5 separate regions of the Homo sapiens genome follow, and regions 1, 2, 3 and 5 are each linked to region 4. Evidence: promoter capture Hi-C in human tissues and cell types (Jung and others, 2019). All regions are on one chromosome and are shown on one strand. Each heading gives the region's core, a stretch centred on a gene start or on the middle of the fragment in contact. The rest is flanking DNA. Distances are from core to core; before and after follow the strand shown.

The links. Contacts are between HindIII fragments. The study calls those that stand out against the background at their distance.
Region 1: a contact is called between a fragment that was not itself captured here and the fragment with the promoter of LYZL1 in region 4, in 2 of the 25 tissues and cell types used here (bladder and mesenchymal stem cells).
Region 2: a contact is called between a fragment that was not itself captured here and the fragment with the promoter of LYZL1 in region 4, in 4 of the 25 tissues and cell types used here (heart left ventricle, mesenchymal stem cells, mesendoderm cells and 1 more).
Region 3: a contact is called between a fragment that was not itself captured here and the fragment with the promoter of LYZL1 in region 4, in 3 of the 25 tissues and cell types used here (heart right ventricle, mesendoderm cells and thymus).
Region 5: a fragment that was not itself captured here is called in contact with the fragment with the promoter of LYZL1 in region 4 in 2 of the 25 tissues and cell types used here (bladder and mesenchymal stem cells).

The regions. Positions count from the first base shown.
Region 1 is chr10:29,149,163-29,154,371 of GRCh38, reverse strand. No RefSeq gene overlaps it. Among named protein-coding and RNA genes, the nearest start is that of LYZL1, 140 kb to the left of the region's middle. The HindIII fragment of the contact is 6,554 bases long and covers 1-5,209 here.
Region 2 is chr10:29,126,772-29,132,827 of GRCh38, reverse strand. No RefSeq gene overlaps it. Among named protein-coding and RNA genes, the nearest start is that of LYZL1, 160 kb to the left of the region's middle. The HindIII fragment of the contact is 6,825 bases long and covers 449-6,056 here.
Region 3 is chr10:29,062,464-29,068,514 of GRCh38, reverse strand. All of the region lies in intron 2 of LOC107984174 (a long non-coding RNA gene), which reads right to left. Among named protein-coding and RNA genes, the nearest start is that of C10orf126, 220 kb to the right of the region's middle. The HindIII fragment of the contact is 6,112 bases long and covers 1-5,925 here.
Region 4 is chr10:29,285,952-29,291,934 of GRCh38, reverse strand. LYZL1 (lysozyme like 1) reads right to left here and starts at 2,865. Exons shown (of 5, transcript NM_032517.6): 1 at 2,705-2,865; 2 at 1-92. The coding sequence starts at 67. The HindIII fragment of the contact is 13,518 bases long and covers 449-5,983 here.
Region 5 is chr10:29,039,511-29,045,316 of GRCh38, reverse strand. No RefSeq gene overlaps it. Among named protein-coding and RNA genes, the nearest start is that of C10orf126, 200 kb to the right of the region's middle. The HindIII fragment of the contact is 6,348 bases long and covers 192-5,806 here.

The DNA.
Region 1 (5,209 bases), core at 1,319-3,818, 140 kb after region 4:
CAGGTCTGTGGAGATCAGGCTTACTCCTCTAGAGTTCAAAGCATCCAGCTGGTCCTGGGAGCTGTGCTGAGGATAGCCTGTTTCCGTGTCTTCTTACTGGGGTGACTACAGTGAAGTCGTTATGACCTGCCTTCAGACACTCAGAACAGGCTGGCCCAAGGCACCTAGAGGAAGTGGAGATCAAAGTTGACAACTGTGCAACAAGTTTCTGGCTAGTTGGAGACACACAAGCACAGAGGTCTTGAGCGATGCCTTAGAGTATTTGCAATTAAATTGGGCGAGAGAGTGCTGGTGTGCTGCTACTCACAGCGTGCTGGACTGTGGACCAGAGCATCAGTATCATCTGGGATTTGATTGCAAATTTAGTATCTCAGGCCTTGCCCCAGATCTACTGTATCAGAATGTGCATCTTAAAAGGACTTGTGCCTTTTAAAAGGACAGAACGTTGTGTCCTCCCAAAATTTCTGCATTGAAACCCTACCACCTAATGTGACGGTATTAGGAGGTGAGGACCTTTGGAGGTAATTAGGATTCAATGAGGTTGTAAGGATGAGCCCTTGTGAATGGAATTAGTGCTTTTATAAAGGTCATGAGAGAGCTTGACTCCCTTCTCTGTTCCCCACCATGTGAGGGTACGAGAAGTCAGCAGTCTGCAACCCAGAAGGAGATCCTCACCAGAGCTCAGCCATGATGGCATCCTGATTCAGACTCCAGCCTCCAGAACTATGAGAAAGACATTTCTGGTGTTTACAAGGCACCCAGTTGATGGTATTTTGTTATAACAGCCCAAACAAACTAAGACAGGACTCCGCAGTGGTTTGCTGATATACTATTTTATTCCACTGAAAGTAATGGCAAAAACCACAATTACTTTTGCACCAACCTAATAATGTTTGAGGAAGCGCTTATTCAGTGGATTCTAGCAGGAAGTGTCTGTTTCATGTTTCCGCCCCCTAAAATCAAGATGCTTCAAGAATAAGGCGCAACAGTGGTTATGAGACATGAGCTGAGAATTGCCTTCAAAGTAAGAGGATCTGGTGGCCTTCGTTTGGAGACCTTTCTGCTCAGTGTCATCTGGAGTATACTTTGGGGCAGAAAAGCTCTTAAGGCACAACCATTTTTACTGCCATTGTGGGATGTGATGGGTGGCATTGGAAGATGAGTGAAAATTTCACCAGCATCCTGCTTCATGGCTGGATGAGAGGTATTACAGGAAGGAGTGGATGCAGGAAACTGTGTCAATCTTCTTGAGGCAGAGACACTTATATTGAAAGAGGAAAAAAAAAAGTCAAGTAGGAAACATATCCTAAGTAATAAGCACTCAGCCAAGAAACTTAAACAGAGAAAACTATGTTGGGTTTTGTTTTCCCAAAAAACAAAATTTGAAAGTTATCTTCTAAATGTTTTTCCTATGCAGTGCAATAAACCATCCCTACTAGTGGATGTTGCAGAATGCAACCAGTATCAGATTGTCTGTGATTCTAAAAAGGGATGGAGATGCCTGGCAGAGAAAACCCAAATGCAATTCTGCTCAATGAGCCCACAACTGAGTCTCTGCTTTCTTCCTATAAAGGAGCTTTCTGGAGGACACCAGCAGTCAGATTCTCGTCATCAGCAGTTAACAACCTTTAGTTTCAGGATGCTTTGATGGAATCCATCCAGGGTTTGTTAAGAGGAAACATGAGTTTTGCCTTCTCTGTCTTGCCACGTGTCTCGCCAGTGCTCTTTTACTCATGACAGCTTCACCTATCTTATGGGTAAGGAAACTAAGTTTAGGAAACTCGCCCCATGTGACAACTCCTGTGGCTTCCAGAACTTGGACTTGAATGAGGGTCTCTCTTTCTGCAAAGCCTGAAGTCTTGCTTCTCTGCTGTATTGCCTCTCACGTCGTTTGTTCATTTGGGGTTAGACGACGTGGCCATCCTCAAAAAGCTTAAAATTCTTGTTCCAATCGTTGTTCCAATTTCAATAGAGTAGACATTTGTTTCACCTCCCCCCTTTCAGCATAATCCTGTAACCCACATGTAAAGACATGAAATAACCAAACCACAGGGCCCTGAAAAAGTTTTATTGAGCTTCAGCTCAGAGACAAGGAGTTCCTTTGAGGTAGAGGTGCTTATATTAAGACAGAAAAACAGTCCCATAGGAAATATTTTCTGAGCAAAGGGAAAGCACAGAGTCAAAAAACTTAAAACCATTGAGATCTGAAAAGATCGTCCCATCCAAAGAGCCCAGGACAAATTCACTTTCTTTCACGGGTGTCCGTAATAAGGAGCACACCCTCCGGAAGTTTCTATGTTGCATCAATTTGTACAACATCAGTCAGGAGCATAGAGTCTCAAGATAAATGAACTTTTCAAGGCCTTGCTCCTTAAAGTATAGTTTCCCCACGTAGCATCACCCAGGGACTTGTAAGAAATTCTGATTCTCAGCCCCACCCCAGACCCACTGAATCTGAACCTGAATTCTAACAAGGCCCTTAGTCACCATGAGCTATGATCGTGCTACTGTATTCCAGCCTGGGCAACAGAGCCAGATCCTGTCTCAAATAGTAATCACATACAAAAACTCTCGACAAAACACAGCAATAAGATAACAAGGTCCACAGGTTATTTGTATACACCTTCAAGTTTGAGAAATTCTGTGTTAAGGCACTGTTATCTGTGGGTACCTAATGCTGGTTGATCCCAGTGATACTTGGAATCATTGTCCCGGAATTTGATAAGCAGTATCCTTCAGGCTTTAATTCCTGAGTGGGGGCTATTCCTACTTGAGTGAGCCGTTTAGTGGGTGAGTGGCTAAAAAAATAATCTGGCTACTGCACTTAGTTTATGTCATATATGATGCCAATTTTGGAAGATCTAAAATATAATAAATGACCTCACAAACTGAAAATTACATTGAAAATGGAATCTGTGATAGGCATTGGGGATTCACTGGATCTTGAAGGGCATTGAAGTAATCTCAGGAACATCAGCTCTCTTTGTACAGAAGATGTGAGAAGCACCAACCAGTAGAACATCCCAGCTGCTGGAATGCCCAGGCAGAGAGAGCTTAGTGCATTGCTGTGAAAGAGCCTGTGGGTGGGTGGTGGGTGCCTGGGGTGGAAGCCAGTATTCACAGCCTGCCAGTAGGAAAGGATGAGAGTATTCTTCACACTGAAAGGGCTGGTTTCTCTGGTCAGATTGATTGGAATTGCTGGTCACCAGGAATTTAACCTAATTAAGGCTAAGCCTCTGAATGGGAATTCCTTTACAATCAAATTCTGCCTGCAGGCTGGGGGTGGCGGTAGGATGGGGAAGAAGGGGGAGATCCTCCCCTCCTAAGCTCTGTTAGCCTTCATTCTGCTGAGACCCCCATCCATCCTATAGTGCCTTTTGCTATTTTCTCCCATTTCTGTGGACTTCAAGATTTGGAGATGCCTGGGCTTGGCACATCTGACTTAGGATCCTGACACCAATTCCCTTCTGCTCCATCACCCAGGCTTGCAAAGAATGAATATAACGGTGTAAATTCTGTGTTCAAAATACCTGGATCAGTTCTTGCCTCCAGTGCCTGTTAGCTGAGAAAGCTACTCACCCTTTCTGTGCCGGAATTCTCCCAGCTGGGAATAGAGCTGACTGTAAATAGCCTTGAGAAGTGTTTCTACAAGGTTGTTCTGAGGATTAAATGAGTTGATGTTTGCTAATGTGTTATTATGTGCAATGCATGGGCTAGTACCTGGCACGTGGTAAGGGTGGCTATCATTTTTATACCAAATCTCGAACTTTAACTCAGGCGCTTTGTTACCCATAGGGAAAATAGAGTTAGATTCCTCCTAGCCGCTAGAAAATTGAAGCTATTCTCCTTTCTGCCCTGGGTCTTGGGATTCTAGGAAGTCCAAGAAGAGAATGATCCATTTTTGGTGAGTACAGGCCTGGAGTTTGGGGGGTACCTGAGAAGCTCTGAGGGTTTAACACAAGTTGACTCTTCCTGCTCCCATGAGTGAACTCTAGGGGCTACGCAGTTAGGCTATTTATAAACAAACACAACATTTTCTGGGGAAAGGTTACAGGTTTATTTTAGGTGGGCTCCTGCTTGGCTGGGAAGGCCTGTACTTGTTATAGCTGCTTGGCTTAGCTCTCTGCAGCCTGGCAATGCGGAGTTCAGCTTGAGGTCAAGCTCTGTTGAAGTTGGCAACGTGACCTAACTCAGGCGGCTGGAGCTTGCGATAACCCCAGGGCTTCCCTTGGAATTTGCTGCTGTCCTGCTCTCCAAACTGGCATTGCAACCTCAGAAGTTTATCCTGGGATTGGACTGGAACAGCAACATGAATGCCACAAAGTTAAAACAAGCAAGATCTTTTAGGAAGAGAGAGCAACTTTAGCTAAGGGATAAATCAGCTACCTTAATAGTGGAAGGTCAGGTACATGCAGTGACATTTTCCAAGCCTATACAGATGGGGATGTCTTTGGTATTTTCTGCTTCTTGCTCATTGGACCCTGCTGCTTTGGGTACCATCATGAGCCAAGACACATTAACCTGAGCAGACTTAGCAGACTGATTTTTTTTTTAATCTCTTTTGGATTTGTTGTTTTGTGATTCTCCTGTTGAGATTTATGTTGCAAACTCAGAAAAACAAAGAAACCCAAAATTTTCCACCTTAGTCAGTCCTTATAATAATGTCACATAATAATAGACAATATTTATAAGAATCTGGCAGAAGTGTCATCTCTCAGAACCCAAACGCAATCAAAATCTCACATCTACTTTCATAAGGGACAAAGTAATAGTAAAGCCCTTTGCAATAGGAACAAAAATTCAGCAGTTACTATTCTTTGATTCTTAGAAAAGAAAAGAATGAGCTGGTTGGGCAGGCACAGTGGCTCACGCCTGTAATCCCAGCATTTTGGGAGACTGAGGAGGGCAGATCACCTGATGTCGGGAGTTAGAGACCAGCCTGGGCAACATGGTGAAACCCCATCTCTACTAAAAATACAAAAGCTAGCCTGGCGTGGTGGTGCACGCCTGTAGTCCCAGCTACTTGGGAGGCTGAGGCATGAGAATCATTTGAACCCAGAAGACAGAGGCTGCAGTGAGCTGAGATCGCACCACTGCACTCCAGCCTGGGTGACAGAGCAAGGCCCTGTGTCAAAAAAACAAGAAAAAAAGAGCTGGTTTATGCTTCTGGCCCATAAAAACTAGCAGATAAGAAGTCTTGATTGAGACA
Region 2 (6,056 bases), core at 2,612-5,111, 160 kb after region 4:
AAGGCATCTTTTGTTGATCTTGCTGTTCGGAGACAAAATTATCCTGGAACAGATTTTTTTCTATTTTTAGGTACATTGTTGATTGTGAAACTGGAGTCTCCAGTGATCTTTTCATAAACATGCCAGAGACGGTCTCAAGAGACAAACAGACTGATGTTCTTGCCCCGAGCAGTTTAGGGTGAGCTCAAAGGAATCTTGAGGAATCTGACATCTCGTGTTTCTGGGAGGAGAAGGGGACCGTGTAGAACTAACCTAGGAACCTATGGACTCTGTGGATATCCCTCTGGTTTTGTTATTTTCAGTTCTCCAGGAAAATTACGGGTGGCAGGAAGGACAAACTTTCTCAGCGTGAATGAAGAAAGCTGCAGACGAGGCCCCGGCTTCATGGCTCTCCTGAGCGTGAGTCCACGCTACAGGCTCTAAGTCTTCACTAGCCTCCTGCCTGCAGAGGCCCTTGTAGAAGTCCCAGTGGCTTGGCCGGCCACCTTGGCCCCACTGCTGAAAGGAGAAGGCAGATGAATGTGAAAGTCAAAATCAGATCCCTCCAACCCTCTAATTCATGTTCGTCTTCAAAATGTCTTTCATCTGCAGCTTCATTTATTCCATCGTGGCCCGGTCTGTTTGTTTTCATGATTCAGAGGAAGCAGCACAGAGCTTATCATCCACGCACAGGCAGAGCTGCACTGGCTCTGGGAGGAGGCCCCAACTGGGCTCCTGCTCTGCAGGGGCCCTGGCTTCGGGCCCAAGCCAATTGTGACCACTTTGTCTTCTTGGCAGTCCCCATGGGTTCAGACTCTGTTGTAATTTATGGGCAAAACTCCTACCTCCTGTCCACATCCTAAATCTCAAACTTGGTTTCTTCTCAACTCCAGATACAGGATAAGCAAACAAACCACCAAAAGACTCCAACCTGGAAAATTTCGGCCTTCATCCCACCATCCCAACATAGTGTGCATTAGAAGAAGGAGCTATGTTCCTCAATCCTGAAATCTTTTCTTTTTAGCAGTCACCCTTTGTGGGATTGTGTCCAGATACCCAGGACTGCATTTTGAGACCACAGCACTTTCTAGAGGAAAACTCCAGACTGCTACTAGATTCCTTGTTGTACTCCATGGCCAGCTTCTTTTGGAGATGAAGCATCTAAGCTTTAAGTCAAGTCTGCAAGTTTGAGCATGATTCAAATGTTGAATAAAACCTGGAGATGACAACTTTAATTATTAGGAGGATGCGTCACTTTTATATTATATTCAACAGTACTTAAATCCAATTACAACCACGCAGCTTACAGTACTTTTCTTCAAAGCTATTTCTGCAAGGTAGCAAATGAACCATCTTGTAACCGCATCAAAAGGAAGGTGAGGCCTTCCTACAGTCAGCTGAACCTTGGCCTGACTCTGACCTGTGCTTCATGGCCACCTAAGTATCTAGGACGTATGTACTTAGGTGGTTGTGTCCAATAGTCTGTCCTTGTGTGCAATTGTGATAAAACTTAATGACATCTTATACAATCTGTTTAATTACCTTCAAAGAGACAATGGTGTACCTGGCCAAGAATGGTACCACTTAGGAAGCGAACAAAGGCAGGGAAGGACAAAGAAAAGAGCACCTTTTCTAGCTGGGTGCACTGGTTCATGCCTGTAATCCCAGCACTTTGGGAGGCTGAGGCGGGTGGGTCACCTGAGGTCAGGAATTCTAGATCAGCCCGGCCAACAGGGTGAAATCCCATCTCTACTAAAAATACAAATATTAGCCAAGTGTGGTGGCACATGCCTGTAATCCCAGCTACTCAGGAGTCTGAGGCAGAAGAATCGTTTAACCCTGGGAGGTGGAGGTTGCAGTGAGCCCAGATCGCACCACTGCACTCCAGCCTAGGTGACAGAGCGAGACTCTGTCTGGAAAAAAAAAAAAAGAACACTTTTTCCAGAACAACTGGGGCAATTCTTCTCACCTTGCATAAGAGGACAAATTGCTGTTGGATGGAGGGTTTGGTGGAAGTGGGAGGTAGGATGTTAGCCCCATTTCTTTTTTTAGGATAAAGAGTAGGCAAGCAATATTTGACCACAGCAGGTAGTAGTGAAAGGGACATCAGCTTTCTTATTTTCATTCTACCGACTTTTGTTGACAATTATGGTCAGAGCAATCATTTTATACATGCATCACTATTGTACAGTAATCCATTCCCATGTCAATACTGGGGAATTCACATGTATTTTTTCCTTTTAAAGAGGTTTCAAAAAGTAATAAAATTAGAGAAATACTGATTTGCTGAGTATGATGCACCTGATTCTACCCTTAGAATATCCCACCTTAGGATGGGAGGAGGTCCTTATTTTTGCTCCCTGGGGGTGCACTGGGGACCTTTCCTTTGAACTGGGAAGAGAATTTAGTCAAATGGCCCCTAGTGGCCTGAAGGAATTACTGCAGTTTCCCTAAAATACACATCTTCATTATTGATCCCTGAATTCAACAGATTTCCAGTGTGTGTTTACTAAAGATAATGAACTTGTTACACAACAAAGAAAACAAATACACCTGGAATTAGTACGCTGCACTGACTTGCAGTATCACTAGGAGGAGCCCTTGCTTTTTGCTAACAGTTATAATGCCAATGGTTACAAGAATAACTTTGTGTTTTAAAAAATTAGGTAAAAATTGGCCTGATGCGGTGGCTCACGCCTGAAATCGTAGCACTCTGGGAGGCCGAGGCAGGTGGATCGCCTGAGCTCAGGAGTTCGAGACCAGCCTGGGCAACACGATGAAACTAAAAAAAAAAAAAAAAAAAAAAAATACAAAAAATTAGCCTCGCCCTACTCGGGAGGCTGAGACAGGAGAATTGCTATAACCCAGGAGGCAGAGGTTGCAGTGAGCTGAGATCATGCCACTGCACTCCAGCCTGGGCAACAGAGTGAGACTCCGTCTCTTAAAAAAAAATGTAAAAATTAATTTCTAACACTTATCAAAATAATAAATTTATATTCTTGCTTGTTTCAGAAAGATTTTAGGATCGTACAGGAATATGTAAATTACAAAAGAATATATAAAGGCAAAATAAAAACATAAGAAGAATGTAAATGAAAGCTCTGAATGAAGTTAATTCTCCAAAAGATAGTACGCTCTTCTGTTTCAGAAATTTCTGAGATTATGATTTTGCTACTCATCCAATGAGCTTATTGTCAGATTTGTCCAGAAATGAGGTGCACAACTATTAATATTATTCTCCACTGCGCTGTTAGAACACTTACTCTGTTAAATACATAGTAATGATCCTAAGTTTCATAGTGTCCACAAAACTCTATGGCATAGCTTAAATTAAAAAAACAGACAAACTATAACAACAAAACCCAATATGCCCCTAATTTCCTTCCTTCTGTTACAAACATATTAAGAATTCCCGGCCAGGAGTGTAGCTATCTGTAAGTATTTTGGGAGGCCAAAGTGGGAAGATTTTTTGAAGCTAAGAGTTTGAGAACAGCTTGGTCAATGTAGCCAGACTCTGTCTCTACAAAAAAAAAAAAACTTTTTAAATTTAACCGGGTATGGTGGTGCATACCTCTAGTCCCAGCTACTCAGGAGGCTAGGGCACGAGGATCACTTGAGCCCAGGAGTTCGAGGTTACAGTGAGCTATGATTCCACTACTGCACTCCAGCCTGGGCAACAGAGCAAAGCTGTCTCTTAAAAATAAATAAATAGAAATAAAATATAGAATTCCTTAGCTCACACTTGGTTAGGGTTGGGCTAAAGAAGAAATGAACTCACTTTTTCACCTCTTATTTCCAGAAATCATGTATTAGGCAAGAGTATAAGGCCATATTTTTCATTTTTCAAAAATCACAAGAATAACACTCTAATCCAGAATAACAAGAAAGGAAGAACAAAACTGAAATCACAGGGCTTAAGAAGACTTTGCGAACCCAAATTCCTAGGTTTTTCACAGTTTTTCTTTTACGTAAGCAAATACTTCCCGACCAACTTTTTATTCTGACTCCAGATTTTTTGATTCAGGATTATAGGCAGACTTTCTGACTTCTGTGACTTTTTTCTCTTAAAAACTCTGGTCATTCCCAATGACTAGGAGGTTTTTTTGTGTGTGTTAAAACAATTGTCTCTTTTCACAAACTGGCATTTCTGCCATTTTGCATAACATTACAGAGCTCTTTCTCTATGGATATGAAAAGATAAGGCTAGAGTTGTATTCTGTCACTTCTCTTTTTTCCCTCTGTGAACTTTGAAAATTTCAGACAGGTCTCCAGTTAAGTTAGACAGTTTATTTTGGGCCGGGCGCAGTGGCTCATGCCTGTAATCCCAGCACTTTGGGAGGCAGAGGTGGATGGATCACCTGAGGTCAGGAGTTCAAGACCAGCCTGACCAACATGGTGAAATCTCGTTTCTACTAAAAATACAAAAATTATCTAGGAGTGGTGACACGCACCTGTAATCCCAGCTACTTGGGAGGCTGAGGCGGGTGAATTGCTTGAACCTGGGAGGCGGAGGTTGCAGTGAGCTGAAATCATGCCACTGCACTCCACCCTGGGCGACAGAGCAAGACTCTGTCTCAAAAAAAAAAAAAAAAGAAAAAGAAAGAAAGTTTATTTTGCCAAGACTGAGGACCTGCGCCGGTGACACAGCCTCAGGAAGTCCTGATGACATGTGCCCAAGGTGGTCAGAGCACAGTTTAGTTTTACACATTTTAGGGAGATATGAGACATTAATCAATGTATGTAAGAAGTACATTGGTTCTGTCCACAAAGGCAGGGGCAACTCGAAGCAAGGAGGGGGCTTTTGAGTCACAGGTAGGTGAGAGACAAATGGTTGCATTCTTTTGAGTTTCTGATAAGCCTTTCCAAAGGAGGCGATCAGAATATGCATCTATCTCAGTGAGCAGAGGGATGACTTGCCTAGAATGGGAGGCAGGTTTGCCCTGAGCAGTTCCCAGCTTGAATTTTCCTTTTAGCTTAGTGATTTGGGGAGCCCAAGAGATTTTCCTTTCACACCTCCCTATCTGGTCTCTTCCCTGTTTTCACTTGTTGACATACAGCATATGGGATTTGAGATCAATAGCACATTGTGCTGAGACACAAGCTCCAGAAGCGGTAAAGAGGGCACAAGGTGGCATCTCTTGGCCAGAGATCACAAGACTGCAATCTTCACCCATCTCTTCAGTGAGAGTCGAGACCAGCGATTCTCAATGCATTTGGGAAGAGTTAGCTTTCTTTTATTCCTTTGTTATGAATAAATAATATGTTTATGAAATATATGTTGTTTAGAAAAGGATCTACGTAATTAAATTTACTGCTGCTATTCTCTTAACAGGATAACAAGCTGGTGAAACAAAAAATACCATTATGCAACTCCAGATCACATGAGAGACACAGAATATTTTTCTACAGTGAAGTATCTAAAAATGTTACCTCTCTGTTAGAATTAAAACTTTTGTGTCTCTCTGAGTCCATCTGAAAGGCAGACAAAATCAATTAGCAACCCTTTCACCCTCTGGCAAAAGAGGAATTTCTGCAAGAATGCCTTCCAGAAGCTATCGGTTGTTTGGTTATTGGCTGTTTGGCTGTGTGTAGGCTTAGACACAACTTTTGGGCTTCCCTGGCGGACAGGAACTGGCTCCATCCTGTCTCTCCTCTACCTTTGTCGGCTCAGTTCTCCACCCCTGGGGCCAGGACCACTGCTCGTCCCTATTTGGGGTCAGCTGTCAGAAGACAGATCTGTTTAATATTTAGCTTTGAAGGAAATTGGCTGAATCAAAGATGAAAGGGGTCAGCTCCAAGTGATGGGGAAAAACAAAAACAAGTCTCAAGTGTTTCAACATTTCCATAGAAAAGTAAAACGATAAAGTCAATGTAGGTGAAAGAGATAGAGAAAAAATGGAAAGAGAGAGAGAGCTGGAGAAGAGAAAGAGAGAGGGAGAGACAGAGATTGAGAGAGGGAGACAGAGAGACAGGGAGACACAGAGAAAAACAGATCTCCAAATTCCCAAATATCATGTCGAGCTGCAAGACTGGCCGTTATTTCCAATGAATAAACAATTCATTGTAATTAAACAGAT
Region 3 (6,051 bases), core at 1,620-4,119, 220 kb after region 4:
TGTTCAGGCAGACCCTCCCACAGTGAAGCCCACAGTGACAGGCTCCTCCAACAGCCACAGACCCTCCCATCAGCTTTGTAATAGCCCAACTTAAATAGGAGCAGAAATCCTAGGCTCGCCAGACAACTGAGCCTAGCCCACTCAATACAATATATATATATATATATATATTCATTTGTAAATATTTGTTTTCTCTTCCCCTCAGCTAGGTATAAATCCATGAAAATGGGCCAGGATGCATCAATGTATATTTGGGTAACACAGAGCTGCTTAATCATAGGTATTTCACACACAGAGATGAATGAGTGATAATGGCTGAAATCTGCAAGAAACAATGTAGCAGAAGCTGATTGGTGAAAATAAGAAACTAATTTAGGTGTACTTGGGGGCCTCCCTGAAATATTCAGAGGAGAGTGTACTTTACAAGTTGCATCAGAGGTCCTGTGTGAGCAAGTGGTGGGCAAGGACATAAATTTATTGATACTGATGTTAATGAGAGTCATTTACATATTACAGATAGCCTAATGAGTCTCAGTGACATTTGGGTGACTTAAATAGCATTGTTGATTTATTGAATGTTTTCTACATGTTAGGTCCTTGGCAAAGCACTTTACATACAATCTCTTAATTAAACCTTACAACAGGCCTGTTAACATATTATCCCCATTTTACAGATGAGGAAACTGAGATTCAGAAAGGTTAAGTAATTTTTCCAAGTTAATTTGCCGATCAGTGAAAAGGTTGGAATTCAAACACCTGTCATCTGACTCTAAAACCCATTTCTGCCTTTCGCACCTCACGCTGTCACAAAACACATCAATTTTCACTTAATATAATGTGATCCTGCCCCATAAATCAAGAAGTCTCTGACAATGTGATTTTATATAAAATAAATTATATAACTAGATTCTCTTATAAAAATAAATTATTTAACTAGATTTCTAATATTGTGCAGCTAATGATTCCATTTTTTCAAGTATTACAAATAACATTGCACAGAACATCCCGGCACAGAAAAGTTTTTGCATGCTTCCCTAATTATTTCCTTAGGATAAAATCCTGGAAGTGTTCTTACTTCAAAGACCAGAAACATGTTGAAGGCTTTGATAATGCCCCAGGCTAAGTTTGTACACATGTAGGCTCCCAACAGCCGCCCCCGACATGCTCATTTCATCACACTCTTGCCAGCATGAGTAATTATAATCCTTTTCAGCCTTTGACATTCTGATATGTAAAAAATGCTGTCACTCTTTCATTTGCATTCCATTGACTGAAAATGAGCTTGAAAGTATTAACTATACACTTATTGAATTTTTCTGCTTTTTGGCAGAGATTTTCCCCACTTGTTCCTTGAGTTGTCGATCTTATCCTTGCTAATTTGTGTTAACTTTTCATATAATAAGAATACCTTTTGCTTGGAAATGTTATCGCCCCATTTGCCATTTGTCTTTAAAGTCCCTTTAACTCCCCAAGAATCTCTGCTTTACATATCTGTATTCCTACAAATTTGATTCTCATTTTGTCTGGATGGTAATGGCAGTGTTGAGATTGAAAAGGAACATTTTATCAGTGAAAGGGCAGCATGAGCTTCTGGAATCTGGAGTGGGGACATGGATCAAGGAGAGACATCAAAGGATCATGGGTTCATGGGTTCAAGACAGAAGAGAGATCAGAAGGGTGTGTAACTGAAGAAGATGGACAGGGGAATAGAGAAACAAATAAAGGATGTATTCAAATAGCCATGAATAACCTTGTAAAAGCTTTATATCTACCTGGTAAGAAAATGTTGGCAATGAATTCAAACATAGGATCCCAAGAAAAAAAAACAGGTATAACAGTTTTCTTCTTTCTTTCTTTAGAGACAGGCCATCGCTCTGCCACCTAGGCTGGAGTGCAATGGCACAATCATAGTTCACTGTAACCTCAAACTCCTGGGCTCAAGTAATCCTCCTGCCTCAGCCTCCTGAATAACTAGAACTACAGAAGCATGTCACCACACCTGTTTATATTTTTTCAAAAAAATTTATAGAGATGAAGTCTCGTTATGTTGCCCCAGCTGGTCTTGAATGAACTCCTGGACTCAAGCGATCCTCCTGCTTCAGCCTCCCAAAGCATAGGGATTACAGGTGTGAACCACTGCACCCAGCCAAGGTATAATCGCTTTCTTCACTTTTAAAAAAATTGGATCAATATAGAAGCAGTTTCTTTAAAAGGATCTTTAAAAGGGGGCCTCCTCCCTCTGCACTACTTGGTCAGTTTATAAGTGCATCTGTGTAACCTTGGAACAGAAACAAACAAGAGCAGGCCCTGTATACACCCAATCTGATGTCAACTAGCTTGTTTGCCAACTTGAGGGTCCAGATTCTCAGCTACAAAAATCATTTGCCTCAACCCATTTCTGCACCCCTGGAAGACTTGTACTTTTTTTTTTTCAAACTTACAATTTTGTTTTTAAATAAAGAACAAAAAATTAGTTTAGAAGAACTGAACCATGTATAGAATGAACTATGTACCATTTATTAAGTAACCACAAATGATAGAAAGGCATAGCATGCTTGTTATGAACCTTTGCAAAATACATCAAGAAGGCCTGGACCATGTTCTTTTCCTACATCAACATCCCAATATTTCCTTCATCTATGTAACTGTCTTTATGTCTGTTCCATACTTGTCTATTTCCTCCTTTGATATGAGTTTGTACCTTAATGTGCCTTCCTATAATCACAGAGGATATGTTAGTAGCACAGACTTCTTAATTCCCATAATCAAAACTTTGTCTTAAAATTTAAACATATGTTATTTATCCTAGTTTTCATTGATTTGGCTAATACTCCTGATATTTGCTGCTAAAATACTGAAATTCTGGAGATTCCCTTATTTTATTTTATTTTATTTTATTTTATTTCATTTCATTTCATTTCATTTCATTTCATTTCATTTAGAGACAAGGTCTCACTCTATATCCCAGGCTGGAGTGCAGTGGTGCAGTCATGGCTCACTGCAGCCTCAACCTCCCTGGGCTCAAGTGATCCTCCCACCTCAGCCTCCCAAGTAGCTGGGACTACAGGCATGTGTGACCCCAAGCCCGGCTAATTTCTGCGTTTTTTTATAAAGATGGGGTCTCACCATGTTGCCCAGGCTGGTATCAAACTCCTGGGCTCAAGCGATCGCCCTGCCTTGGCCTCCCAAACTGCTGGGATTACAGGTGTGAGCCACTGTGCCAGGCTAGATTCATTTTCTTCTAAAGCAAATACACTCTTCCTTCTAAAAACTTTAGCTGGGCATGGTGGCACGTGCCTGTAATCCCAGCTACTCAGGAGGCTGAGGCAGGAGAATCGCTTGAACCCGGGAGGCAGAGGTTGCAGTGAGCAGAGATCGCGCCATTGGCACTCCAGCCTGGGCAACAAGAGCAAAACTCCATCTCAAAAATAAATAAATAAGTAAATAAATAAATAATAATAAAATGAAAACTGCAGCCTTCCTTGTACTAAATAAAGGAAAGAGTTTTTAAAATCTTCCTAATTTTTGGAGGGAAGACATCACATTTTAGTCTAACCTTCACCCCATTAATCATGTAAAAGTTATTTAGTTGGTTGTTTTGCAATCCCTACCATGAAAAGTTTTCTCCCCTAAGGCAAATGGGAGCAAAGGCAGTTTGCTTGCTGCTCACTGGGTTTTACTTTTTAACTCTTCAAGTTGCACTCTGTGGTGTCTACGTGTACGATTTTATAGAGCAAAAAATATTGTTTACCTTGGTTTACAGATTTCTAACTTGCCAAGTTGATACATTAGAGCACAAATTAATTTTCTAAAACCAAAATCCTTCAGACAAAAGGACGTTGAGATATGAATAGATGTCTGATTGCTCTAGTTCCTATCCAGACTGAACCTTTCTTATCCTGTTAGGCTGTGCAGTACCAAGGGTTAACGTGACTGTGATGCAATCTCTCAGACATTCTCCACTCTCAGACAAAAGAAGAGAATGAGAGTGCAGGGGCAGAAATGATAAGTATGGAGTCAGACAGTTCAAAGATTTGCAGAGTTTGAACAACAGTGGCGACCCAAGGAGGACAGATAGTGAGTCAGGAAAAGTGTCTGCAGTTACAAAGCACTTCCAGAAGGATGAAGTGTTATATCGCCCAATATTTTGTGGACTTGATCCATTGCTTAATCACACTCTTACAAACTGTTTTAAATTCAGACTACAGGAAAATGTGGGGAAAGCTTATCATAAAATAAATCAAAGGGAAAATTAGATTCACTTCACCAAAACTCAGCTTATAGTTATGAGTCAATGTGGGGGAGACCACACCATGACATGGATTCCAGTTGAAATCAGATCTGAATCCAGAGGTGTTGAGTTACGGAAAATCCAAGGCAGGGCACTTGCACCTTTTTTTTGATGATTCATTTTAATTATTACTGACTTTGCCATTGAGACCTATGCTCTAGGGTCCCTCTCCAATATGCATTGCCCCATTTCTTTCTTGCTAACAGTACCTCTGTTTTGCTCATCCTTATCTAAACAGTCACTTCCTTTCAGGGAGGCTGAGCTCTTTCTCATTCTTCAAGGATGAAGTTGAGTGATGTCAATAATCAAAGTTTTCTAGGTCCCCTTAACATTCTAGTATTTCGGGGGTTTTTTGTTTTTGTTTTTGTTTTTGTTTTTTGGAAGCAGAGTCTCACTCTGTTGCCCAGGCTGGAGTGCAATGGCGCAATCTCGACTCACTGCAACCTCTGCCTCCTGGGTTCTAGCAATTCTCCTGCCACAGCCTCCTGAGTAGCTGGGATTACAGGTGCCACCACATGCCCAGCTAATTTTTGTACTTTTAGTAGAGATGGGGTTTTACCACATTGGCCAGGCTGGTCTCGAACCCCTGACCTCAGGTGATCTGCCCGCCTTGGCCTCCCAAAGTGCTGGGATTAGAGGCGTGAGTCACCACGCCTGACTGTATTTCCAAAGTGTGGGGCCAGGGGATATCTGAAAGGCATGTGAGAACATACTCCAGCAAGGCACTCTTGAGGGGTGCTCATGACCCTAGAACTAAGAAGCTATCTGGCAATCATGAGATGCCACACCTAGAGACCTGGACAACACATTAAAGATGTAGAAAGAGTGACAGCACCCAAGTCCTTGATGACAGTGTTGAGACATCCAGACTTTTGGTTATGTAAAAAGAGAAAAGTCTGTATACTTTAAGATATTTTAATTGGGTTTCAGCTACAAGCATCCTTCTGCTACAGTTAGCGTTCAGTTTAGACACTGGCAGTGGGTAGACCACTCCATTATTTTATTGTCTGTACATTTTGTGGTAGAAAAAATTATTCAAATGTATCCTATAGCATGAGATTTTTCAGTGATCTAATTAACAACAGAAAACCTAGCTTGGCATCTCTATGAGACATTCACTCAATTTCTCTCATCATACTTTCACTCAATTTCAGAAGAGCAGAATTTGTTCTCTTTTTAAAAACAATTTTTTGGGCCAGGTGTGGTGGCTTATGCCTGTAATCCCAGCACTTTGGGAGGCCGAGGCAAGCAGATCTCCTGAGGTCAGGAGTTCAAGACCAGCCTGGCCAACGTGCTGAAACCCGGTCTCTACTAAAAATACAAAAATTAGCTGGGCGTGGTGATGGGCACCTGTAATCCTAGCTACTTGGGAGGCTGAGGCAGGAGAATTGCTTGAACCTGGGAGGCGGAGGTTGCAGTGAACCAGGACCACACCATTGCACTCCAGCCTGGGCAACAAGAGTGAAACTCCATCTCAGAAAAAAAAAAATTTTTTTTTGGTAGGAAGGGCAGCACTTCATTCCATAAAATAGAATAAGTAGAACTTATTCTCTATTGCATATTCAGTCAAAAATTTATTTTTTTTTATTTCAATAGGTTTCTGGGGAATAAGTGGTGTTTGGTTATATGAATAAGTTCTTTGGTGGTAATTTCTGATAATTTGGTGCGCTCATCACCCAAGCAGTGTACATTGTACCTAACGTGTAGTCTTTTATTCCTCACCACCTGCCACCCTTTCCCCCAAATCCCCAAAGCCTCCA
Region 4 (5,983 bases), core at 1,616-4,115:
TGTAGATTTTGGACTCGGCGCCTGTGACCAGGCAGCCAATGAGGGTCAGAATGCCCGCAGCCTTCATCCTCAAAGCCTGCCGGAGACAGAACCTGCCAAAGAGCCGGAGAACAGGTCAGACGATCTTGGTTCAGGAACTTTGAAATCCAGCGGTGGTGACTGTGCACAGCCCTGCCTAGATGCTGCCTGTCACTTTGGTCATTCAGTGCCACCATCAGGGAAAACCGGCCACTCTACGGTCCAGGGAAGGAAGGCAACTGAAGGCTGTTTCCTTAATGCTTTTCCATACAGTAACTTTCAAGTCAATGCTGTGTTCTCAGGGTTAAGCAAGCAAAAAAATTAACCCTCCTTAATACACATCCAGGTGAAAACCACAGGGGGCATTTTTAGGATTTCTATTTTAATTCTATGAATGAAAAATAGAATACAGGGGTGAAACATTCCCTATACTGCTGACCCTTGAACAACATGGGTTTGAACTGCGTGGGTCCATTTATCCGTGAATTTTCTTCTGCCTCTGCCACCCCGAGACAGCAAGACCAACCCCTCCTCTTCCTCCTCCACCTCAGCCTGCTCAGTGTGAAGACAACCAGGATGAAGCCCTTTATGATGATCCACTTCCACTTAACAAATAGTAAATGTATCTTCTCTTCCTTATTCTTTTCTGAATAACATTTCATTTCTCTAGCTTACTTTATTGTAAGAATCCAGTACAGAAGACATAGAACATAAAAAATATGTGTTTATTGGCTATTTATGTTATCAGTAAGGCTTCCAGTCAGCAGTAGGCTATGGAGTCGTTAAGTTTCTGGGGAGTCAAAAGTTACATGCAGATTTTCAACTGAGCAGGCGTCGGTGCCCGTGACCCCTACATTTGTTCAAGGATCAACTGGATGTGTAGAAACAGACAGCCCATTTCAGCCACAGATGAAAGACACGTGGGCCTGTATGGAAAACTTTAAGGGTTATTGTTTGGGGGTTTATCGAAGAGTGAAGATTAAGCACCTACTCTTTCATTTTCTTTTCTTGATTCAGTTCCAAATGTGGGAGCTTTGCTTCCAAAGTATCAGTGCTTTTATTTATTTATTTATTTTTTGAGATGGAATCTCACTCTGTTGTCCAGGCTGGAGTGCAGTGGCGCCATCTGGGCTCACTCCAAACTCTGCCTCCCAGGTTCAAGCGATTCTCCTGCCTCAGCCTCCTGAGTAGCTGGGATTACAGGCGCCCACCACCACACCTGGCTAATTTTTGTGTTTCTAGTATAGATGAGGTTTCACACTGTTGGTCAGGCTCATTTCAAACTCCTGACCTTGTGATCTGCCCACCTCGGCCTCCCAAAGTGCTGGGATAACAGGTGTGAGCCACCATGCCCAGCCCAAAACATGAGTGTTTTATCTTAGATTGCAAATGCATTGCTTTGCTAAGCTTCACCACCAGTGCTCCGGGGGGCCTCCTAAAAGTCTGGCACCTGACTGGGGAGCAAGAGGGATGGAGGACAAAGCCTCATGAAAGGAGGAAAGCACCTGGGGGAGCAGAGGGGCAATAAAGAGACCCCTGCGGAATCATCTGAAATGGGAGTAGGATCAAGAGAGCTGTCTCCTGCTGCCTACTGATTTTCCACAATCTCTTCCCCTCTTGAAATAATGTCTTCCCCAAATACAACAGCCTTGCTGGGATGGGGTGAAGTGAAATTTCTGACAACTACTCGGGATCCTGAACTTGATGTTCTTACATATGTTCATCCCGTGTCATTTTCTGCACTTGCCTAGAAACTTCTCCAGTCATTAGTTTCTCTCCCTGGGGCTGGATTCCTGCATTGAAAGGCTAGGCCCAAAACAGGGATAAGTAGTCATCAGCAAGGCCACCGCACCAAGTAACAAGCAGGGCTTTAAGGTGACTAAGCAATAAGGTAAGGAACTGCATTGCATGAGGGGCATGTACATTACAAACGTGAATAGCAAGCGTGGGCAAACCAGGCCCGCTTTTGTATGTAAAGTTTTATTGAAACATAGCTACACCCATTTGGTAATATATCATTGGTGGCTGATTTCCAACTACAGTGGCAGAGTTCAGTAATTGTGTTTGAGGCCGTATAGACCACAAAGCCTAACATATTATTATCTGGCCCTTTTCAGAGAGAGCATGCCAGTCCGCTGTGTACAGCACTGTGTTAAGCTGTGAGGGACAGACAAACGAGGTTTAAGATGCAGAGCTAAGGCCAGGCATGGTGGGTGATACCTGTAATCCAAGCACTTTGGGAGGCTGAGGTGAGCAGATTGCTTGAAGCCAGGAGTTTGAGACTAGCCTGGGCAGCAAAGGTAGACCCTGCCTCTACAAAATATACAAAAATTAGCCAGGCATGGTGGTGTGTGCCTGTGGTCCCAGCTACTGGGGAGGCTGAGGTGGGAGGATCACTTGAGGCTGGGAGTTTGAGGCCATAGTGAGCCATGATTGTGACACTGCACTCCAGCCTGGGCAGCAGAGTGAGAGACCCTGTCTAAAAAAAAAAAAAAAAAAGAAAAGAAAAAAGAAAAAAAGATACAGAGCTTACAAATAGAGTTGGTTTCCATCCCCTGCCTTAGAATTTTACTGATCTCAAACAAGTCCAAAGAAAACCCGCAGCAATGATAACCCCAAGCATCATGTTCTACATCCTTCAAGAACCTGCCATTGCTGGTTCTCATAAGAGTAATTTAGGTCTTACTGAAAAGGCAGATTCCTGGTGCCTGCCCCAGAGGCTGACTTCTCAGTTGAGTCTGCGGAAGAAACACTGCTCCACTTAGTCGGTGACAGGCAGCTCAGGGGAGCGTCCTGCATCCCCTGAAGCCATGTCTGATTCTAACGAGGCGCGAGTAATCCTTTCCTAGCTCAAGAACATTTCTTTAGAGTGTTAGAGAAAGAAAAATTCTTAATCCTTTGTTTCTCACCACCTAGAGATGCTAGAATTCTACTTCTTGGCACTAAAAGCTGTATCATCCTGCATGCTTGTGTTCTGAGGCAGGTGATAACTGTCTTCTGGGGCTTAATACCTCTTGTTTTTTGTCTTTTCCCCTCAACAACCCTCCTCATTACACAACTTGGCCAGGGCCTCCTGTCCAAGTGAGAGCTCTTCTCTGAGGCGTCTGCAAACTTTATCACAAATTCCATTAATAAAGAAAGTTAAGCATGTATCCTCTTTAGATGTACATTGAGTTATAAATCATACTTCTGTACCTCAGTACTAATATGCTACATAAATTATCAACATACATAAAACTAAAATTTGAAAATTAATGACATAGAGGTGAAATTAACATTAAAAATTTATTAACAGCACATTTGCTATAGTCAAATTATTATTAATAAAATATTTTTGTAATAACATGATTTTATTATTTTTGAAAAATTTGGCTTAACACTTTGTGAATCAATAACTAAAGGGCTGTTTTCAAGGTCTATTTATTTCAATGTTCAGATTTAGTGACACATTTGAAATGAATTCTCATTAGAATATGTAGATCTAAGTAGAAGTTTATTGTTGGCTGCACCTAACTAATCGTTATATTTTCTTAAATTCCATCTGCCAATAATGCAAAGGTTTTGTTGAAATCTATTTTGAAGTTCATATAGTATTGCATTATACAGATACAACATAGCATACTTAGCCAATTTCATATTGATGCACACTTATTTTATTCTTCTATTGTAAACATATTACAACCAGTAATTTTGTACATATGTCATTTGTAACTTTACAAGAATATCTTGCTGGATCAAAGGGTATAATTTTGTAATTTTGCTAGATATTTGCCAAATTGCCTTTCACATGGGCTTGTATCAGGAAGATAGCACACTGTGTTATCAAATGTTTCAATATTTCTCAATATTAGAGATGAAACATAATTTTTCAGCAGAGTTTCAATTTCAACTTTCGTTATTTCAAGCTGCTTGAGGGTCTTTTTTATCTTTAGAAGCCATTAGTGGACTTCTTGTGAACAGTCTATAATATGAGAAAATGTATAGGTTTTTCCCTCAAACATCTTTTTCAAAATGCTTTGAAATAGGGATCTTACCAGTGAGAAAATAGAGACGGATTGTCTTTTTCTTTTTCAAAAATGCTTGCTTAGCAAGTTTTCAGATATGACGTAAATATACAAAAGCCATTTACAATCTTATATACTAGGAATAGAAAATAAGAGTTTGAAATAAAAAAAAATCCATTTACAATAGTACACAAATGCAAATGAAGTACTTAAATTTAAACCTAACAAAATATGTGCAGGATATATATACTGACAACTATAAGACAGACGGAAAATTAAAGAAGACCTGAGTAAATGAAAAAGACACACCATATTCATGAATTTGAAGAGTCAATATTATTAAGATTTAATACATAGATTTAGTGGAATCCCATTTAAACTCCCAGAAAAATTGTTTAGAAAATATCAATAAGAGGGTCCTAAAACTTATATGAAAAGGCAAAGGGACTAGAGTAGGCAAAACTATTCAGAAGAATAATAAAATTGAAGGACTCATATTGCTTGATTTTAGAACTTAATATAAAGCTGTAGTAATCAAGACAGGATGATATTTGTGGAAACAGACACATAGGACAGTGTAACAAAATAGAGAGCCTAGAAATAGTGTTACACATATGTAGTCAAGTAGCTTTTTATAAAGATGCAAATTAAATTCAATGGAAAGATGATGTTCCATTTAACACATGGTACTAAAATAAGACTGTCTATGTGCAAAACAACGAAAACAACAAAAATAAAACAAGGCATAAGGCATATTGAAGAATACATACCTTATATCTCATACAAAAATTAATTCAAGATGGATCAAAAGCCTAAATGTAAAAAGTGTGAAACGATGAAATTCTTTAAGTTAAATATAAAAAATCTGCAGGACCTTGGGTTTGGCAATGAAATTTTAGATATAACATCAAAAGCACAATCCATGAAAGGAAGAAAAAAAAACTGATTAGTTGGATTTGATCAAAATTTAAAACTTTTGCTCTTTGAAAGACACTGTTAAGGGAATGAAAAGATTAGCTACAGATTGGAAGAAATATTTACAAATCAATGTCTGATGAGATGAAAGCCTTGTATTCAGAATATATAAAGGACTCTTAGAATTCAACTATAAGCAAGCATATAACCCAATTAAAAAAAGGGCAAATGATTTAAGCAGACATTTCAAAGAAGATATACAAATGACAAGCATATGAAAAGATGATCAATATCATTGTCACCAGGAAAGAGTAAATAAAACCACAATTAGATATCACTTCTCACTAATTAGAATTGCTAAAATCAATTAGATGAAACCAAATGATGAAGACACAGAACTGTAAGAACTCCAATTTATCACTGGTGGAAATACAAATGGTACAGTCACTTTGGAAAACAGTTAGTCAGTTTCTCATAAAATTAAACATGGACTTATCACATAAACCGACAATTATACTCCTATGTATTTATTCAAGTGAATAAAAAACTTACATTCACACAAAAACAAGCTAACCCATGTTTATAGCAGCTTTATTCATAATCAATGAAAACTGGAAGCAACAAAGATGACCTTCAGCAGGCAAATATATTCAAAAACTATGATCTATCCATACAATGGAATACTACTCAGCAATGAAAGGAATGAGCTATTTGATTCCCGCAACAATGAGGATGAATCTTAAATGCATTTTGCTAAATAAAAGAAGGCAGACCCAAAAGATTACTATTATATATACGTATTATATATAATTCCATATATACGACATTATGGAAAAGGCAAAATTTATAGGGATGGAAAACAGTTCAGTGATTGTCAAGGGTTAGAGGAGAAATTGACTACAAAGGAACCACACACATTCTATTTTATTTTAGGTCATTGGAACTGTTCTCTATGATACTGGGGTAGTAGAAACATGGCTTCATGAATTTGTCAAAATCTGTAGACCCGTACACCACAAAGGGGGAACTTCATTGTATGCAAACTT
Region 5 (5,806 bases), core at 2,116-4,615, 250 kb after region 4:
TCTTTTGGTACATTTATTCTAAAAGAAGAGCCCACCACTCATTATCCAAAACAAAGACCAGATTGTATTTCTTGCTGCCAGGGAGAGCTGTACTTATGAGTTACAGTGCCTTTGAATAAAGCAAACTGGGATTCTAACACAGGGTTTTGGGAAGCATGGAGTTCAGAGATTGGCAAACTCTTGGAAATTGAAGTGTTGGGGGATTGGTTGATCTTTAGCTGTGAAAGCCTTTTTGATGGACTGAGGCTGTTCTGACTAGTGGACTTTCAGAAATATGAGTACTGAAGTGAAGTGTTAGTGATGATTGGTAAGAGTTTAAAAGCAATTTTGGAGATGACTTGTTCATAGATTGGGACTATGGCCAAAGAACAGTCAGTCTTTTCCTTTCTTGAATTTAGATGATATAATTCTTTATTCTTACTTTCTAGCTTTCACTTAAAATGTTACATGGTGTTTTCATATTGTCCCTTTTTGACAGCAAGATTAATGTTTTTAAATTTCTTGGTTTTTTGGGTTATTTTTAAGAGACAGGGTCTTACTCTATTGCCTAGGCTGGAGTGCAGTTGTGCGATCATAGCTCACTGCAGCCTCAAGCTCCTGGGCTCAAGCAGTCCTCCCACCTCAACCTCCAAGAGAGCTGAGACTACAGGCATACACCACCACACGCAGCTAATTTTTTTTTTAATTTTTGTGAGACGGGTCTTGCCAAGATGGGTCTTGAGCCCCTGGTCTCGAGAGATTCTCCTGCCTTGGCCTCCCAAAGTGCTAAGAATATAGGATTGCAGCCTTGAGCCACCACACCTGGCAAAAAAAAAAAAAAAAAAGAAAAAGAAAAAAGAAAATTACATGTAAATATCCAAACACAACAAAGGTAGAGAGAAAAATAGAGAAAATGGTATAATGAATTCTTGTGGCCCAGTCTTTCAATACATGTATGCTCTGTTCTACCTGCTTCATCCGAATCTCTTTTCCTGACACAACTTTGTTGTTTTATTTTAAATTAATCCCACTTATTATATAATTCTCATAAATATTTTCATATTTACCTTTCACAAATAAAGACTAAAACATATCCTTATAACACCATTGTCACACTCCACAAAATTAACAGTAGTTACTCAATAATGTCATACTCCGGTTTTCCTGGTTGTCTAAAAATATCTTTTTACAATTGATTTATTCAAATCATAATCCAAATAAAAATGCACATTGCTCAGCCTGTGCAACATGGTGAAACTCCGTCTGTACTAAAATTACAAAAAAGGGCATAGTGTTGCACACCTGTAGTCCCAGCTACTCAGGAGTGTGAGGTGTCAGGATCACTTGAACTCAGGAAGTCAAGGCTGCAGTGTGCCAAGATCACACCACTGCACCCCAGCCTTGGGAACGGGAAGGAAACCCCTGTCTTAAAAAATATACATATACACATTTCACTTGATCTTATGTCTGGTAAGTCTTTTTAAATCTATAATAGTCTCTCTTTCTTTTATTCCCATGCCATTTCTTTGTAGAAGAAACTGGATCATTTGTGCAATAGAAGTTTCCCTTTTCCTCATGGTATTGTTGCTCATGTTCTTCTACCCTCCATAATGTTGCTAACCTGTAAGTTAGATTCAAAGGCTTGGCTACATTGGGGTCAAAGTTTAGAAAAAAATGTCCCATAGATGGTGCTGGGCACTTCTTAATGCTTCACATCAGAATGCACATAATGGTTGGCTTTCCCAACTGTAGTGATGTTAGGATACATCAGTGGGTTCAGGTGCCAGCAAACCCATTTATTATGAAACTTGTCCCTTGATATTTCACTTAATGGCTTAGCTGTTATTGCTGATTGTTGGTTAGATCTATTATTTCATTACAGTTGCACAATTGTGATTTTTTAAAAATTCTATCAGCCCTTCTTCATTTGTTCACAGTAATTTTTCTCTAAGGAAGAAATGTCTTCTGTCAACTGTGTATTTGTTCTGAAATATAGCCCTTACAGGAAAGGCAAGATAAATATTCAATTTTTTTCTGATACAAATTTTAGAATAATAAATTACTGTCTTAACAACCTCCAAAGGTAATCAATGAGTTTCATTTTTAGAGTATTGTTATAACACATGGGTTCTTATATATTTGATATCTTTCCTTTTTTGCAGTCATTATTCTTCTTGGCTCTCTAATTATGCCGTCTTTGGCCAGTGAGAGCCCCTTCAAGTTGGCTCCTATGCACATTTTCTCCCATATCCTCTTGACACAATTCTAGTAGGTTTTGATAAATAATATAAGATGCACTGAGCACAAGTTGTATATTGCTAACCCCAGACAGAAAATCAACCTTTCCTCCTCCTAGGAAGAAATGGTTATTAGAGTTCATAATCTGGGCTCAAGAGGTGCTCATCATTACTGGGCTGTTCTTTTATTTGCAGTAATAATACTAACAAAATGACTAATCTGCTTTCTCCTGCAATTGATATGTAATAGTTTTACAACAATACTAATTCCTTATTCAGTTTAAGTCTAGTTGTATTGTATTTCTGCTACTTTAAATGTGGTGTATTCTCTATTACTTTTTCTAACTAGTTATGCATGTGTGTGTATACACATGTAACTTTGATTTCTGTAGGTGAATTTTATACCTTACCTATGTACTAAAGTTTTTAGAGTGGATTTTCCATTAATTCTTTTGGGTTTTCCAGATACATAATAATATCATCTACAAATAGGAATAGTTTTACCTCTTCCTCTTCAATTTGTGTCTCTAATTGCCTTCTGTTATCCAATTGCATTAGCTAATAACTTCAGCATAGAGTTAAATAGTAATGGAGAGAGTGGCCACTCTTGTCTTGTTACTGACTTAGTGGAAAAGCCTCTGGTGTTTCCCCACTAAGTAAGATGCAGGCTTTGGACTGACTTTTGTTTGTTTGTTTGTTTGTTTGTTTTGTTTTGTTCTGTTTTGTTTTTGAGATGGAATCTTGCTCTGTTGCCCAGGCTGGAGTGCAGTGGTGCTATCTTGGCTCACTGCAAGAGCTGAGGTATTAATATACATATTTCATCATGCTAAGAAATTTCTCTCAATTCTTATGTTTTAACATGGATGGTCGATAAATCTTGCCAAGCATGTTTTTAAAACATTATTGGAGATAATCATGTTACTTTTCTTCTTAGTTCTGTTCATATGATGAATTTCATTAGTTTACACTAAGATTTTGAGTCCTCTAGAAACAGCCACTTCTGAATATAAATCCCCTTGTCTTCATCTGGCAGAAACAGAAACGAAGAGGAAGGAGACATTTTTTTAGTTAGTCAGTATCAGTAATCACTCCTATTCTTTGGTAAGTTTCTGGCTTATTTCCTAGATTTGTAAGCAAAGAGAGCGTTATCTGGCTAGATGTAGCTCGATTATTATGACTGTGTGTGACATGCCATCTCCCGCACTGCTGCTCCCGCCCCTCCCTTTAGCATGTGCACAATCAGACTGCACATTTGAAAAGCAATGGCTTAAAATCCCTGTGTCTTAGGAGACCCATAACCAGTTAAAATGCCCTTCAGCCAGAGCTACAGTGCATATGTTAAGCCCCGTTTCTTACTGGAATACACAAGCAGATCCAAATTAAATGCAGACGTGTTTACGCTTGGGAACCCAATCCAATTCCAGAAGTGAGAGTGCAGCTTTATCAACCAAGCCACCCACTCTCCCAGGAAGATGGCAGGAATCAAAACCAGACTTTTCTGGTGTTATAATTTGACTTCTGTCAGCAGTGGCAACTATACTTTAAAAAATCAAGCTGCTGCTTATTTTCTTAGTCCCTAATGTCACACTCAAGGAGAACTCTGAGTCCAACAAGGTATCTCAGGTTCTGTTTCAAGTGAGAAAACGAAAATAAAAGGCCAAGTATTTCTGATGTCTGAGGTGATTTTATTTTTCATTGTCAGAAAGGAAAGCTTCTGTGAAACTTCTGGAAGGAGGAAGTAGCATTACCATATGGAGACTCTGTCGTCAATGACTTTGCTTCTCAGAAACCCTGTTAAGGGCAGGTACTATTGGTGTTAAGCCTAGTCTATCTTTAATCCCCAACAAGCCAAGAATGAAGATTAAAAGGTCAAACTTGAGCTATGGGCCTCCCTCACACATACTCTGAAATTAATGAAGATGACTCTGCAAAATGGGCAACGAGCTTTATAAATATCTTCCTCTTCTACATAAACACACACACAAACCCTCTGAGGCATGGAGAAAGGAAGTGACATCAACCCAATGCCAACCCTGAAGTTTTCCCACATCCTTTGTCAAAATGAAGTTCTGCCCTTTAATTGGCACTCTTTGTATTGTATTGGTACTCCATCAGAACCTCCACCGTCTCCATCAGCACCTTGACCATCTCAATCAGCACCTCCACCATCTCCGTCAGTACCTCCACCATCTCCATCACCACCTCCACCATCTCTATCAGTACCTCCACTATCCATATCAGGACCTCCTCCATCTCCATCAGCACCTCTACCATCTCCATCAGCACCTCCACCACCTCCATCAGCATCTCCTCCATCTCCATCAGCACCTTCACCATCTCCATGAGTACCCCCACCATCTCCATCAGAACCTCCACCATCTCCATCAGCACCTCCTCCACCTCCATCAACATCTCCACCATCTCCATCAGTACCTCCTCCATCTCCTTCAGTACCTCCTCCACCTCCATCAACCTCTCCACCATCTCCATCAGCACCTCCTTCATCTCCAACAGCACCTCCTCCACCTCCATCAGTACCTCCACCGTCTCCATCAGCACCTCCACCATCTCCAATAGTACCCCTATCATTTCCATCAGCACCTCCACCATCTCCATCAACACCTCCACTGTCTCCATCAGTGTCATTACCACTACCACCAACACCCTGCTCTTGTGCTTTCTCTTGCACCTTCCTTGAGAGACAGTTGTGGTGACCAGGGCTCTAGGGCTGAGTGGAATAACTGCCCAGGGGTCCAGATTGTCAGAAGGGGTAGAGCAATCACTATTCATTGAACTAAAATGACATTTCGGTCATTTCTAGAGCCACAGAGGTATATTCAGGATAAACCTTTTAAAAAAATTTGGGCTCCAGGCCCTGGGCTCTGGGTGACTTGTCACATTCTTTCACCCATAAATGGACTTTACTTTTACTGTCTATTCATATTATGCTTAACACAAATTCTTCATGTTGCCTTTTGACCCCACTGCCTCTTGTCGTGTGTTCTCTGGTGGAGATGGAGCCCAGCTGGTGCCTGGTATTCTGCACAAAGATCTCTGCATTAAAGATACTTTTCTTTGAATAGTAATGGATTGGCCTTCAAGTACTCTTTTCAAGGCTTCCAGCTTACAGATGCTCTCTAATAACAGTGATGAATGTGGCATCTCTGAAGCATTTTATGCATGTTTTGTTTCCCTGACTTCACACATAGGAATTTCTATCTTTCAAAACCTTTGTTGGGATGGGAGCCAAAGAGATTGGAGGAGAAATGCAAGGAACAAAAACGTGCCTCATTCCTTCCACAGAAGTGGTGAAGCTGACCTGCTTCATGGCAGAGCCCTCTGTGGTGCTGAGGCAATTGAACAAAAAAATCAATCAAACTGAGGCTGTTGCCTGAGAACAGTGTAGACAGTCCAAGTTTCCCAACACCCCACAAGCAAGGAGACGCATCAAGATCCATTGAGACACTTTCCCCTTTAACCATTCTCTTCTCCTTACCTTGCCTCCCTGTCTCCACATCCCCTTTCTCTACTTTGCCACCACTTCCCTCCCTCTCCCCTACCATACCCGTACCCCTGCCAATCTTCTTCTT